Linked DNA regions of Homo sapiens: region 2 is linked to region 1. Evidence: promoter capture Hi-C in human tissues and cell types (Jung and others, 2019). All regions are on one chromosome and are shown on one strand. The core of a region is centred on a gene start or on the middle of the fragment in contact, and the rest is flanking DNA. Distances in the headings are between cores, read along the strand shown.

Region 1 (6,824 bases), core at 3,834-6,333:
CACACAGGTGAAATGGGAGGCATGAGTGGAGAAGGATTATTTTTTGGCCAGAGGCTGAGGGGATACTGGAGTAGGAATCAATCTGGATCAAAGAAGCAATAACAATGGAAATGTCCATTAATAGACTGTGTGAAAAGATGAAGAGTTGACTGAGGAAGAAATCCCCGGGAGACTGAAGACTTCATCAATTCAACCATGTAAATGACTGCATTTCCCATTAATCTCATCAAGTGAAAGAAGAAGTTAACCAAAAGGAAATGGGGCAGTTCCTCAAAGCCTGGGAAGCCCAGGAGACAGAATTGAGTGGCACTAGAGTAGTTCCCCTCGCTGTTTCAATCCTAGCTCTTTCTCTCTGGGAAGGCTAGAAAGGAAACAAGAATTAACATTGCTCCACATGCCTTTAATCCCAAAGGAAATAAGGACAGATTTAGGATTATGCTCCTGGATTATGGAGCCTGCTCTATGTTATGATCATTTAACCGAGTTGACGCTACATATTTATTAAGGAATGAACACAATTGTGTAAAGATGAATGGATCTGGTCAAATAAGTGGTTCACCAGGCACCAAAGCTGCATGGTAGTCATTGCGATAGGCAGAGGAATGCCCCCTCAACGATGTCCAAGCCCTAATCCTTGGAATTTGTGAAATGTTGCTTTACATAGGAAAGGGGACTTTGCAGGTGTGATTGGGTTGAAGACCTTGAGATGAGGGGATTAGCCTGGGCGATCCAGGTGGGCTGAATCTAATCTTAGGGGTGATCCAGATGGGCTGAATCTAATCTTAGGGATTTGTAAAAGTGGAGAAACTTCTCCTCTGAGTTCAGTCAGAGGGCTAAGTGATGACAGAAGACGGTTCTGAGAGACACATGTGACTGGCTTTGAAGATGGACGAGGGAACAATAAGCCAAGGAATGTGGGCAGCTTCTAGAAGGTGGAAAAGCAAGGAGACTCCAGAAAGGAAGGCAGCCCTGATGACGCCTTGATTTTAGCTCATTGAGGCCTGGTCAAGTTACTGACCTGGAGAATTTGTCAGGTAATAAATTTGTGTTGTTTAAGCTACAAAATTTGTGGTAATTGGCTACAGAAGCAATAGAAAATGAATAGTCATGAAGGCCCATGTAGCCCCGACCTATGCTCCTGCCTTTCAATTCCCAAGCCCCTGCCTCCAGCCCTGCTCTGCCCAGGACCTGTCTTCCTACCTGAGCTCCCTGCTAGCAACTGGCTCCTTTCTTCTTCCTCCTCCATTTCTAGCCTTGTGACCTACATTTTTCTTTACTTTCTTTCTTTTTGTTTTTGTTTTTGTTTTGAGACGAAGTCTTGCTTTGCCACCCAGGCCGGAGTGCAGTGGCACGATATTGGCTCACTGCAACCTCTGCCTCATGGGCTCAAGCAATTCTCCTGCCTCAGCCTCCTGGGTAAATGGGATTACAGGCTAATTTTTTGTATTTTTAGTACAGACAGGGTTTCACCATGTTAGCCAGGCTGGTCTGGAACTCCTGACCTCAAGTGATACACCCACCTTGGCCTCTCAGAGTGCTAGGATTATAGGCATGAGCCACCGTTCCCAGCCTCTTCTTTGCTTTCAATGGGTCAGCTCCAAATCTCAGTTCCAAGCTCAAGTCCTACAGAAAGATTGCCTGGTCAACCCCTCCAGCCCTGGTTATTCTTAACCTCAGGGCCCATCTGTACTACCTTCATTGCACAGCTTTTCCTTGAAATCTTTGAGTCATTATTTCTGTCTCAGTGTGGGTGGGGTTGCACTGGGTATCATGCATAAGGTTTAAATGTCTCTGAGATGAAAGACTGTGACTCAGAGTTTACTAGGGAGCTGGAAGCTTGGAGTGGCCTCCCCATATTCCCTTTACCTTTGTCCCCAGGGTGTGTATCTTCTCACAGGAGCCAGATCCCAAGATGTGTCCACCAAGGGCCCTGCCTCTGGAGGCAGATATCTGTTTGATTCCCAGACTTCTCCAAATGATACTTTCTTTGGAGAATTTTAACAAGAGGCTGCTATGGTCCAGGGCCTCCATTCCCTGCCTCCCTAGATCCCTAAACCCTGGATCCACTTGGAGATTTTGTCTGCAAATGGAAACTCTGGATCCAGCCCTGGCTAGGTACCCAGGCTGTCATAATTTTAGTCCAGCTGGGAAAATTCCTTTGTGTTTTTTCCATGATCTCATATTTTTTCCATGGTCCTGGGAGGAGGGGAAGGGCCAGGAGACAGGCACTGCCGAGGTGCTGATCCTAAGCCGTCAGCTGCTTGGGTGTATCTGGGTCTTTATCCATTTCTTTATTCAGATCTTTTTCTCAAATGTTACTTCCTCAAAACAGAGGACATCTCATTATTCTAAGGAGCAACGTCAGTGCCTCAGAAGTCCCCAGAGGGCTCCTTGGCTTCCTGTCATTCCCACAGAAAACACTCTGCTGGAGTCTAAGTTTCCCATCCAGCATAAGCTGAACTGTAAACATCATCAAGACACGAAGGACTTGGAGATGTGGATGAGAGAAAGAGCTGAAAACACTCATCCTTGAGAGAGAATGGACAGAATCAGCACCTTTCCCCTCTGGTCTCCTGAGGGACTTATTTCCCATCTCCCAGCCCCACATCAATGCTGCTGCCCCTGGCTTTGTAGTGACACAGGGTAGGTGCTGAATTAGAAAATCAGCATAAGGACTGGCAGAGTTTTAGCTCACCCAGCAGTGCCACCTCTTCCAAGCTGTGCACAAAGCCCCTTTCCACCCTTTCCAGCCGCAAGACACAACCCAAGGGAAAGAGACTGCATCTCTGATGTCATTCATGTTATAGAGTGAGGCCAGTAGGCAGGTGTCTCCAGGTATGAATGCCTAAGTGAGAGCAGCTTACAAAGAAGACAACAGGCTTGGAGGCTAAGGTGAGGGGGGGAAGTCTGTATGTCAGTCAGGTTCTCATGCAACACAAACATAAGGACTGGGTTTGAATTTAGTCAGTGCTGGGGTAGATTTTAGGATTTTAGACCTACCGTTAAGGCTTGCCAGTGGCATGGGTGCAAGGCTTTATTTATTTATTTATTTATTTATTTATTTATTTATTTATTTTTTATTGTTTTTGAGATGGAGTCTAGCTTTGTCATCCAGGCTGGAGTGTATTGGCATGATCTCAGCTCACTGCAATCCCACATCCCAGGTTCAAGTGATTCTCCTACCTCAGCCTCCCAAGTAGCTGGGATTACAAGTGCCCGCCACCATGCCCAGCTAATTTTTGTATTTTTAGTAGAGACGGGGTTTCACTGTGTTGGCCAGGCTGGTCTTGAACTCCTGACCTCGTGATCCGCCCACCTCAGCCTGCCAAACAGCTGGGATTACAAGCGTGAGCTACCGCGCCTGGCCGGGTGCAAGGCTTTTTAAAATTAGAATGTCATTGCTGTGTGGCCAGGACACAACCCCAAATGAAGCATTTATGGGGCTGGAGAAAGGGCCAGAGTATATCTACACACAGCTTCACTCCTTCCACTCCTGACAGTTTGTGTTGTAAATACTTTGTTTGTGTTTGAAATGTTTTAAAGTACCCTTTTAGTGAACTGAAATTCCAAGAAACAGTGTAAAGCTGTAAAGATCTTCACACACACACATGCTGGCAATGAGAAGAAGTGTAGAGAGATGATGGGCAAAAAAAATTTGAGTTCTATTGACGGTCTAACAATAAGAACAGTGATAACAATAACAACAACGATTTGTTGGCTAGTATGTGCTAGTCACTGCACTAAGTAGTTTACTTATTTAATTTTATAATCACCATAGAGGCTAAGTACCAGTAATACCATTATTTTACAGCTGAATAAACGGGCTCAGAGAGAGTAAGTAACAAAGAAGAGCAGATTTACGGCCCGTGACAAGCAAGTCTAGAGCCAGAATTCAAACACAGGCAAGCCAACTCCATAGCTTACACTTTGCACCACGGCGGGAGGGGAAGTGCAATGGAGACGGCAAAGCAGCACCCTTGGGTAGACAGATTATGCCGTTGGGAAGCCTGATGACTGTGTGTGTCCTGGGAGAGCAGCCACTTGGATTTCCAGGCTCGCTCCCTGACCTGCTGCACCCTTTCTGCTCTCCATCTTTGCAAACACGAAGCAGAGGTCTCCTCTAAAGGAAGTTAATTTCTGGACTCAAAACTCTGACTTTCACTAATTTCATGATCATAGCCGGAGAAATGTGCACAAGCGAGGGTCCTCAGAGAGGCAGCTCAGAAAGGTTTGCAGGGACCCTTTAAAAAGGGTCTTGGGGCACAACCTCTGGGTGTGACATAGACGGATTAGCCTACATTTGGGGGCTTCTGGGTCACATGCACTAATGCTCTCTCTCCCTCTCTTTTTCTGTGTTCCTCCCCTTCCTGTATTTCTCTATTTGAATTTTTTCTGTTCTTTCTCTGGTCCTCTGTTGTTTCCTTCTTGTTTTCTCCCTAAATGTCAATGTCTGTTGCCATGTGGTCTTCCTTAATCTTTTCCTCTGTTTTTCTTTCTTCCCCCCCTTTTTTTTTTTCTTTTTTGAGATGGAGTCTCACTCTGTCACCCAGGCTGGAGTGCAGTGGCACGATTTCGGCTCACTGCAACCTCCACCTCCCAGGTTCAAGCGATTCTCATGCCTCAGTTTTGCAGGTAGCTGAGATTACAGTTGCCTGCACCTGGCTTATTTTTGTATTTTTAGTAGAGACAGGGTTTCACCATGTTGGCCAGGCTGGTCTTGAACTCCTGACCTCAAGTGTTCCCCCTGCCTCGGCCTCCCAAAGTGCTGGGATTACAGGCATGAACCACCATCCCCAGCCTTCTCTCTTCTTAATAATGGCTTTCTATGTCTTTCACTTCTCTCATACCCTCACTCTGTTTCTCCTTGACTCTCCCATTCCTGTTTTGTTATCTTTCTTTATTGCCGTTTCTTTCTGCTTTTCTGTTTATCACTCGCTGGCTACTTGCCTTTCTCTCTCTATTCTCTGTCTCTGTCCCTGTTTCTTCTGTTTCAAGTTCAATGGTTCTCTGTCTCTATCTCTCTGTTTCTGCCTCTCCGTCTGTCTTTTGTTTCTCTTGCATGCAGGGCCCCATACTGTGGATCATGGCAAATCTGAGCCAGCCCTCCGAATTTGTCCTCTTGGGCTTCTCCTCCTTTGGTGAGCTGCAGGCCCTTCTGTATGGCCCCTTCCTCATGCTTTATCTTCTCGCCTTCATGGGAAACACCATCATCATAGTTATGGTCATAGCTGACACCCACCTACATACACCCATGTACTTCTTCCTGGGCAATTTTTCCCTGCTGGAGATCTTGGTAACCATGACTGCAGTGCCCAGGATGCTCTCAGACCTGTTGGTCCCCCACAAAGTCATTACCTTCACTGGCTGCATGGTCCAGTTCTACTTCCACTTTTCCCTGGGGTCCACCTCCTTCCTCATCCTGACAGACATGGCCCTTGATCGCTTTGTGGCCATCTGCCACCCACTGCGCTATGGCACTCTGATGAGCCGGGCTATGTGTGTCCAGCTGGCTGGGGCTGCCTGGGCAGCTCCTTTCCTAGCCATGGTACCCACTGTCCTCTCCCGAGCTCATCTTGATTACTGCCATGGCGACGTCATCAACCACTTCTTCTGTGACAATGAACCTCTCCTGCAGTTGTCATGCTCTGACACTCGCCTGTTGGAATTCTGGGACTTTCTGATGGCCTTGACCTTTGTCCTCAGCTCCTTCCTGGTGACCCTCATCTCCTATGGCTACATAGTGACCACTGTGCTGCGGATCCCCTCTGCCAGCAGCTGCCAGAAGGCTTTCTCCACTTGCGGGTCTCACCTCACACTGGTCTTCATCGGCTACAGTAGTACCATCTTTCTGTATGTCAGGCCTGGCAAAGCTCACTCTGTGCAAGTCAGGAAGGTCGTGGCCTTGGTGACTTCAGTTCTCACCCCCTTTCTCAATCCCTTTATCCTTACCTTCTGCAATCAGACAGTTAAAACAGTGCTACAGGGGCAGATGCAGAGGCTGAAAGGCCTTTGCAAGGCACAATGATGAGCCCAGGGCCCAGGGGAACCTGGCCTGCCTCCATTGAGCAGTTCTGTGGGGAGGGAGACCTCCAGCAAGTGGGAAGAACACTGCTGAGTTTCTTTAGTTTTTTTCCCTCTGAGCAATAACTACAGTGAGCCCTGAGTGCTGCACTGTCTGGCCCAAAGCTCTTATGGACCACCATGGAAGAGTTCCCTACATCCCCTGGCAGCCGTAAGAACTCTGAGAGTAGCCCAGAGCTTTCAGTAAAGGGAAGTGCATGTGCTTTGCATTTAAGGAAGAGCAGCCAAGAAGTGCTCTATGATCAAGAGGTAGTGTCCAATCCCAGTATGTGTGCATGGGTGTGTATGTGTGTACATATGTGTGTATGCGTGTGCATGTTCCGGGTGTGCTTCTCTATCACAGTATGCACTGCTGCTGAGTGTATGCACCATAAGTGCTTGGGCTACATGGGATCAAGAGAAGAAGCAAAACTTACCAAAAACAAACTGATTGTTTTTCAATGTGTGTGTGAGTGTTGGGAGGAGGACTGGGTCCTTGTATAATTATTCATCCATTTATTCATTCATTTCTTCAACATTGAGTAGGCTGTGTGTGTCAGGCACTGTAACAGGTAGAGGGTAGAAAGGTAAAAAAGGCATAAATGGTTCTTAACCTGACAAAGCTCTTGGCCTAAGGAAGGAAAAAGTGATAAATAGCTGTTTCCAGCACAGTGGGGAACGTGCAACAGTGGATTCACAGACGGTATTATGAGCACACAGGGGAGCAACACTGAGACCAGGAGGAGGCTCAGCGACGGCTTCCT
Region 2 (6,577 bases), core at 3,779-6,278, 47 kb after region 1:
GAACAATGAGAACACATGGACACAGGAAGGGGAACATCACACACCGAGACCTGTTGTGGGGTGGGGGGAGGGGGGAGGGATAGCATTAGGAGATATACCTAATGCTAAATGATGAGTTAATGGGTGCAGCACACCAACATGGTACATGTATACATATGTAACAAACCTGCACGTTGTGCACATGTACCCTAAAACTTAAAAGTATAATAATAATAAAATAAAATAAAAAAGAACATTACAACATGCTCTGCAGGGGTAAATGCTTTATCATGTATTACTACATTTTAATCACATCTTTGTAAAGCCAGAAGCATTTTGAAAGTCACATTACAGACATTGTTTAAACATAGTTTGTATTTACCAAAGCATAGGACGTTGTATCATCTCATATTAATTAGTTAGTTGGCTCAAAATTAGTGGTAATGACTTAGTAATTCAATAATTTCTCTTAGCTTTAAAACCTTCTTTATTTCAGAACTATTTCACCTCTTGGTTTTTGTTTTTGCTGTGCATCACTGCCTGCCAGCTGCTAATCTCTTATCTCCCAGTGGATTACGTGTCCAGTGAAGGGACTGAATGAGATACTAGTGGCAAATTATATTGATGATTCATATTTTGAATAAATAGATTAAGCTTGTATAAACAAACAAACAAAAAAATCAAAAACAGGAGATGCTGGCATGGATGTGGTGATCAGGAAACACTTCTACACTGCTGGTGGGGATGTAAACTACTACAGCCACCAAGGAAAACAGTGTGGAGATTCTTTAAAGAACTAAAAGTAGATCCACCATTTGATCCAGCAATCTCACTACTGGGTATCTACTCAGAGGAAAAGAAGTCATTATACAAAAAAGATACTTGCACACACATGTCTATAGCAGCACAATTTACAGTTGCAAAATCATGAGACCAACCCAAATGCCTATCAATCAACAAGTGGATAAAGAAACCGTGATATAAACATATGATGGAATACTACTGAGCCATAAAAAGGAATGAATTAACAGCATTTGCACTGACCTGAATGAGATTGGAGACTATTATTCTAAGTGAAGTAACTCAGGAATGGAAAACCAAATGTCGTATGTTTTCACTGATATGTGGCAGCTAAGCTATGAGGACACAAAGGCATAAGAATTATACAATGGACTTTGGGGACTTATGGGGAAGAGTGGGAGGGAAGTGAGGGATAAAAGACAACATATATGGTGCAGTTGTATACTGTGTAGGTGATGAGTGCACCAAAATCTCACAAATCACCACTAAAGAACTTATTCATATAACCAAATACCATGTGTACCCCAATAACTTATGGAAAAATAAATAAATAAATAAAGTGTTAAAGAAATATCACAATGGAACAAGGCCCCTAGAAATTAACCTGAGTGCTGAAGCACTTTGTGAGCTAGAATCCGAGACAAAATAGTAATTGCAATGGTCTATTACCTTGATTTGTCCAGAGCTGAGGAGTCTCCCAGGATAGAAGACTTTCAGTGCCAAAACTCAGAAAGTTCTGGGCAAACCAGGATAAGGTAGTCATCCTCAAGACGGTGGAATGCAGAAAGTGGGCAGAAATGCCAAGGTGTGATATCAATTATTTATCTAAATTATCTCAAAATGTGTCCAGGGCTGGGAGGCAGACATTTACATGAAAAGCGTGGGTGAGATTTCTGTGTGTACAATCCAGACAGATGAAGTTCTTGGTTCACATGGGGCTTTCTATCAACGACCATTCACCAATGGAATTGGAGCCCTGAAAATTTACCCAGGGAATGTGTCTGGGGTCACTCCCTAGAGATACTACAAGACTGAATACAGGGTTGGAGTGCAAGGGCAGGGTACTTGGATCAGGGTAGTGCCAAACTGGCAAATGGAGATTCAGTGACAACTATTTCACAGTATTTAAGAGGTTGAAATGGCAAGCAAGTGAAGATAGGTGGATTAAATTGATCCCTGACACAAGCACATTATTTTGCCTATAAAACCAGGAAGAACAATCTGTCTCCTGTCCTGAGGGCACATTCATGACATTTGCCATTGTGCAGCTACTGTTGACTTTTCCTGCAGAAGAAAAATCTGTCTAAAAGGACATCTTGAAAGGCTAAGAGGGCGTGTTGGGACCTTCTGCCAGCTGGCCTGAAGAGGCTCACAAACCACCTCTTCCTCCTGGTTCCTTTGGAAATTCCACTGGGCAATGCAGACTGGTTCATCTTCTTGTACTTAACTGAGCTGCCAGGTTGGAAATAGTCCTAAACTTTTCGCACAGAGCTGTAATCTTAAACTGTAATTTTATTTTATTTTATTTTTAAAATTTTTAAAATTTTAAATTTTTTTTTAAATTATTATACTTTTAAGTTATAGGGTACATGTGCACTAGGTGCAAGTTTGTTACATATGTATACATGTGCCATGTTGGTGTGCTGCACCCATTAACTTGTCATTTACATTAGGTATATCTCCTAATGCTATCCCTCCCCGCTCCCCCCACCCCACGACAGGCCCCGGTGTGTGATGTTCCCCTTCCTGTGTCCAAGTGTTCTCATTGTTCAACTCCCACTGATGAGTGAGAACATGTGGTGGTTGGTTTTTTGTCCTTGCGATAGTTTTCTGAAAATGATGGTTTCCAGCTTCATCCATGTCCCTACAAAGAAATAGGAACACTTTTACACTGTTGGTGGGACTGTAAACTACTTCAACCATTGTGGAAGACAATGTGGCAATTCCTCAAGGATCTACAATTAAACTGTAATTTTAAATTGAGAGATGCAACATGGTGTAATGAGAAGTAGATGGCTTTTGTAACTACAGAAACCTAGTTTAACCTGGCCACTTACTTCCTGTATAACCTTAGGTACATTAATTAGTTTCTATGATCCTTAGTTCTCTCTCCATAACATTGGTTTAATAATATGTATCTCAGGGATTTTGTGATACATAGACATAACCATATGAACATGGAAAGCACAGTGTACATGAGGTATAGGAAGCCCCCCTTCCCCCCACCCCCCACAAAGTGGTCTAATTCTCTATCTGTGTGTGTGACTGTGTGTGCAAAACTGTACATGTGATTGTGTGTGTGTGCAGAGCTGTTCAGATAACCCCCTGCCCTACAGCCTTACCCAAGAACAGAAACTCTGTCTCATCCTTCCTCAACAGCTGTGTTGTAAACTGGGTGCATAGCTTTAATTTCACAGTCCACTAGGCTCTACTTCTCCATCTCCCCCATCGAACTCCATGCTCAAGATCACACTTGTGGCTTCTATCTCATTGTAAAAAAAGGAGGTGGAGCATATTTCTTTGCAATTCATGGAGGAACATAAAGCTATCTCTGCCTCTTGGATGGCCTGTCCCAAATGTCTTTCTCTATAGGGTTTGCTATTAACTTCCCTCTCAGAACTGCTTTGCTGCATCCCATAAGTTTTGGTATATTGTATTTCCATTTTTGTTTGTAAGATTATTAATCTCCCTCTTAATTTCTTCTGTGACCTCTTGATTATTTCAAGGCATTTTATTTAATTTCCACACTTTGTAGAATTTTCCAAGATCTCTCCTGTTATTGATTTCTAGTTTTATGCCATTGTAATTGGAGAAGATACTTGATATGATTTCAATTTTCTTAAATCTGTTAAGACTTGTTTTTTGTTTGTTGGTTTGTTTTTGGCCTAACATATGATCTATCTTAGAGAATGTCCCATGTCCACTTGAGACAACTGTGAATTCTGTTACACTTGGATACAATGTTCTGTTTGTCTGGTTTATTTGGTCAAATGTGTAATTCAAGTCCAATGTTTCCCTATTGATTTTCTGTTTAAATGATTTGTCTGTTCTTGAAAGTGGGGCATTGTGTTTCCCTAATATTATGGTATTAGTGTACATTTCTCCCTTTAGATTACTTAATAGTTTCATAATACATTACATGCTCCAATTTGGGGTTTATATGTATTTACAGTTGTTATGTCCTCTTTATGAATTTATCCCTTTATTATTATATATGACCTTCTTTGTCTCCTTTTTAAGGTTTTTGACTTAAGGACTATTTTCTTGATATGAGCATAGCTCTCCCTGGTCTTTTTTGGTTTCCGTTTGTGTAAAATATCTTCTTCCATCCCTTGAATTTTACTCTCTTTGTGTCCTTACTAATAAAGAGAGTCATTTATAAGTAGTCTATACTAAGATCTTTTTCTGTTTGTTTTAAGCCATTCAGCCACATTTATGTCTTTTAATTTGAGAATTTAATCTATTTACATTTAATATAGTAATTGATAGGTAAGAACTTTCTACTCCCATTTTGTAATTTGTTTTCTGGGTATTTTGTGGATATTTTGCCTTTTTCTCACTTGCTGTCTTTCACTATGGTTTGATGGTTTTCTGTAGTGATATGCTTTGAATTCTTTCTTTTTATATTTTGTGTAACTACTATAGAGTTTTGCTTTGTGGCTACCTTGAGGCTTATGTAAAACATTGTATACTTAATAACAAGCTATTTTAAGCTAATAACAACTTAACTTTAATCACATACAAAAACTCTACATTTACAGCCCCTCCCACCTTTTATGACATTGATGACAAAATTAACATCTTTTTGTAATTTTTATCCCCTAACAATTTATTGTACCTGCAGTTGTTTTTAATAATTTTGTTTTTTAACCATAATACTACAGATAAAATTTCTGAATTCACCACATTTATAGTATTAGAGTATTCTGAGTATCACTATATATTAATGTATCATCAAGTTTTGTACTTTTATACATCTTATGTCATTCCTTAGCAGCCTTTAGTTTCAGCTTAAAGAACTCCCTTTAGCAATTCCTGTAAGACAGGCCTAGTGGTAATAAAATCCCTTAGCTTTTATTTGTCAGGAAAAGTTTTTATTTCTCCCTCATGTCTGAAAGAAAGCTTTGCTAGGTAAAGTATTTTTGGTTGGCAGTCCTTTTTTTTTTGCTTTTACCATTTTGAATACATCATCCTACTCTCTCCTGGACTGTAAAACTTTTGCTGAGAAATTTTCTGACAGCAGTATAGGGACTCCTATACTAAGCCTAGTACTCAATAGTTATTTTTTCTAATCCTCTCCCTTCTCCCACCCTTCGCCCTTAAGTAGGCCTCAGTGTCTGTTGTTCCCCTCTTTGTGTCATGAGTTTCATTATTTAGCTCCCACTTATAAATGAGAATATGCCAGCATGGTGACTCACACCTGTAATCCCAACACTTTGGAAGGCTGAGGTGGGTGGATCACCTGAGGTCAGGAGTTCGAGACCAGCCTGGCCAACATGGTGAAACACCATCTCTACTAAAAATACAAAAATTAGCTGGGCATGGTGGTAGCTCCCAGCTACTCGGGAGGCTGAGGCAGGAGAATCACTTGAAACTGGGAGGCAGAGGTTGCAGTGAACCAAGATCATGCCATTGCACTCCAGCCTGGGCAACAAGAGCAAAACTCTGTCAAAAAAAAAAAAAAGGCTGAGAATATGGGATGTTTGGTTTTCTGTTCCTGTGTTGGTCTGCTAAGGACAATGGACTTCAACTTCATCTGTGTTCTCATAAGACATGATCTTGTTCTTTTTTATGGCTGCATAGTACTCCATGGTGTATAAGTACCACATTTTCTTTATCCAATCTGTCATTGATGGGCATTTAGCTTGATTCTATGTCTTTGCTATAGTGAACAGTGCCACAGTGAACATTCACCTGCATATGTGTTTATGGTAAAATGATTTCTATTCGTTTGGGTATATACCCAAAGGAATGAGATTGCTGGGTTGAATGGTAGTTCTGTTTTTAGCTCTTTGAGGAGTCACCACACTGCTTTCCACAATGGTGGAACTAATTTACACTCATATCAACAGTATACAAGCATTCCTTTTCACCACAGCATCACTAGCATCTGTTATTTTTTGACCTTTTAATAATAGCCATTCTGACTGGTGTGAGATGATTTGCATTCTCTAATGATCAGTGATACTGAGCTTTTCTTCATATGCTACTTGGTCACATGTCTATCTTCTTTTGAAAAGTATAATACTTTTTTGAAAAGTCAAATATTTTTCAGTGCAATCAATTTATTGAGAGAAAATTTGAGCATAATGAGAATTTCATATTTTCTTACAGGCAGTTTCAGCAGCAAGAAGCACAAAGTGAAATAGAAACTGTACCAAGTTAAACCAATTCACATAAGAATACACAAAACACACTCATATACCTCAAACATCTAAAAGCTATCTCGGTACACTGAGTGTATTGATCTCAAGGGTTTGTTTATTGTCTTGTTACATTTGAAAACTACTGTATATAAGCAAACACTCTTTCAATATCCCAAACATGTTTAAGTGTCCTGGTTCAAAACACCAGCAGGGAAAATGGAAAAAAAGGGCATACTATTTGTATGTGAAGACTTTAAACAGAAATTACCCAATCCTGTAGAAATGGCTCCCTTCAGTGTTATTAATGGCTAATTCAGTGGTTTCAAACATCACTACAATCTCCAAAGCCTTCGGCCATCAGATGACACCATAAGTTCAAATGAGAAAGCCACAAAAGAATTTTCAGCAGTGATATTAAAATTAATTGAAGA

Evidence for each region. Contacts are between HindIII fragments. The study calls those that stand out against the background at their distance.
Region 2: a contact is called between a fragment that was not itself captured here and the fragment with the promoter of OR6V1 in region 1, in 1 of the 25 tissues and cell types used here (neural progenitor cells).

Annotation. Positions count from the first base shown.
Region 1 is chr7:143,047,258-143,054,081 of GRCh38, forward strand. OR6V1 (olfactory receptor family 6 subfamily V member 1) reads left to right here and starts at 5,084. Exons shown (of 1, transcript NM_001001667.1): 1 at 5,084-6,025. The coding sequence starts at 5,084. The coding sequence ends at 6,025. It also overlaps the pseudogene OR9P1P. RefSeq lists an enhancer at 1,279-2,478. The HindIII fragment of the contact is 14,465 bases long and covers 1-6,824 here.
Region 2 is chr7:143,094,215-143,100,791 of GRCh38, forward strand. No RefSeq gene overlaps it. Among named protein-coding and RNA genes, the nearest start is that of PIP, 35 kb to the right of the region's middle. The HindIII fragment of the contact is 4,523 bases long and covers 2,768-6,577 here.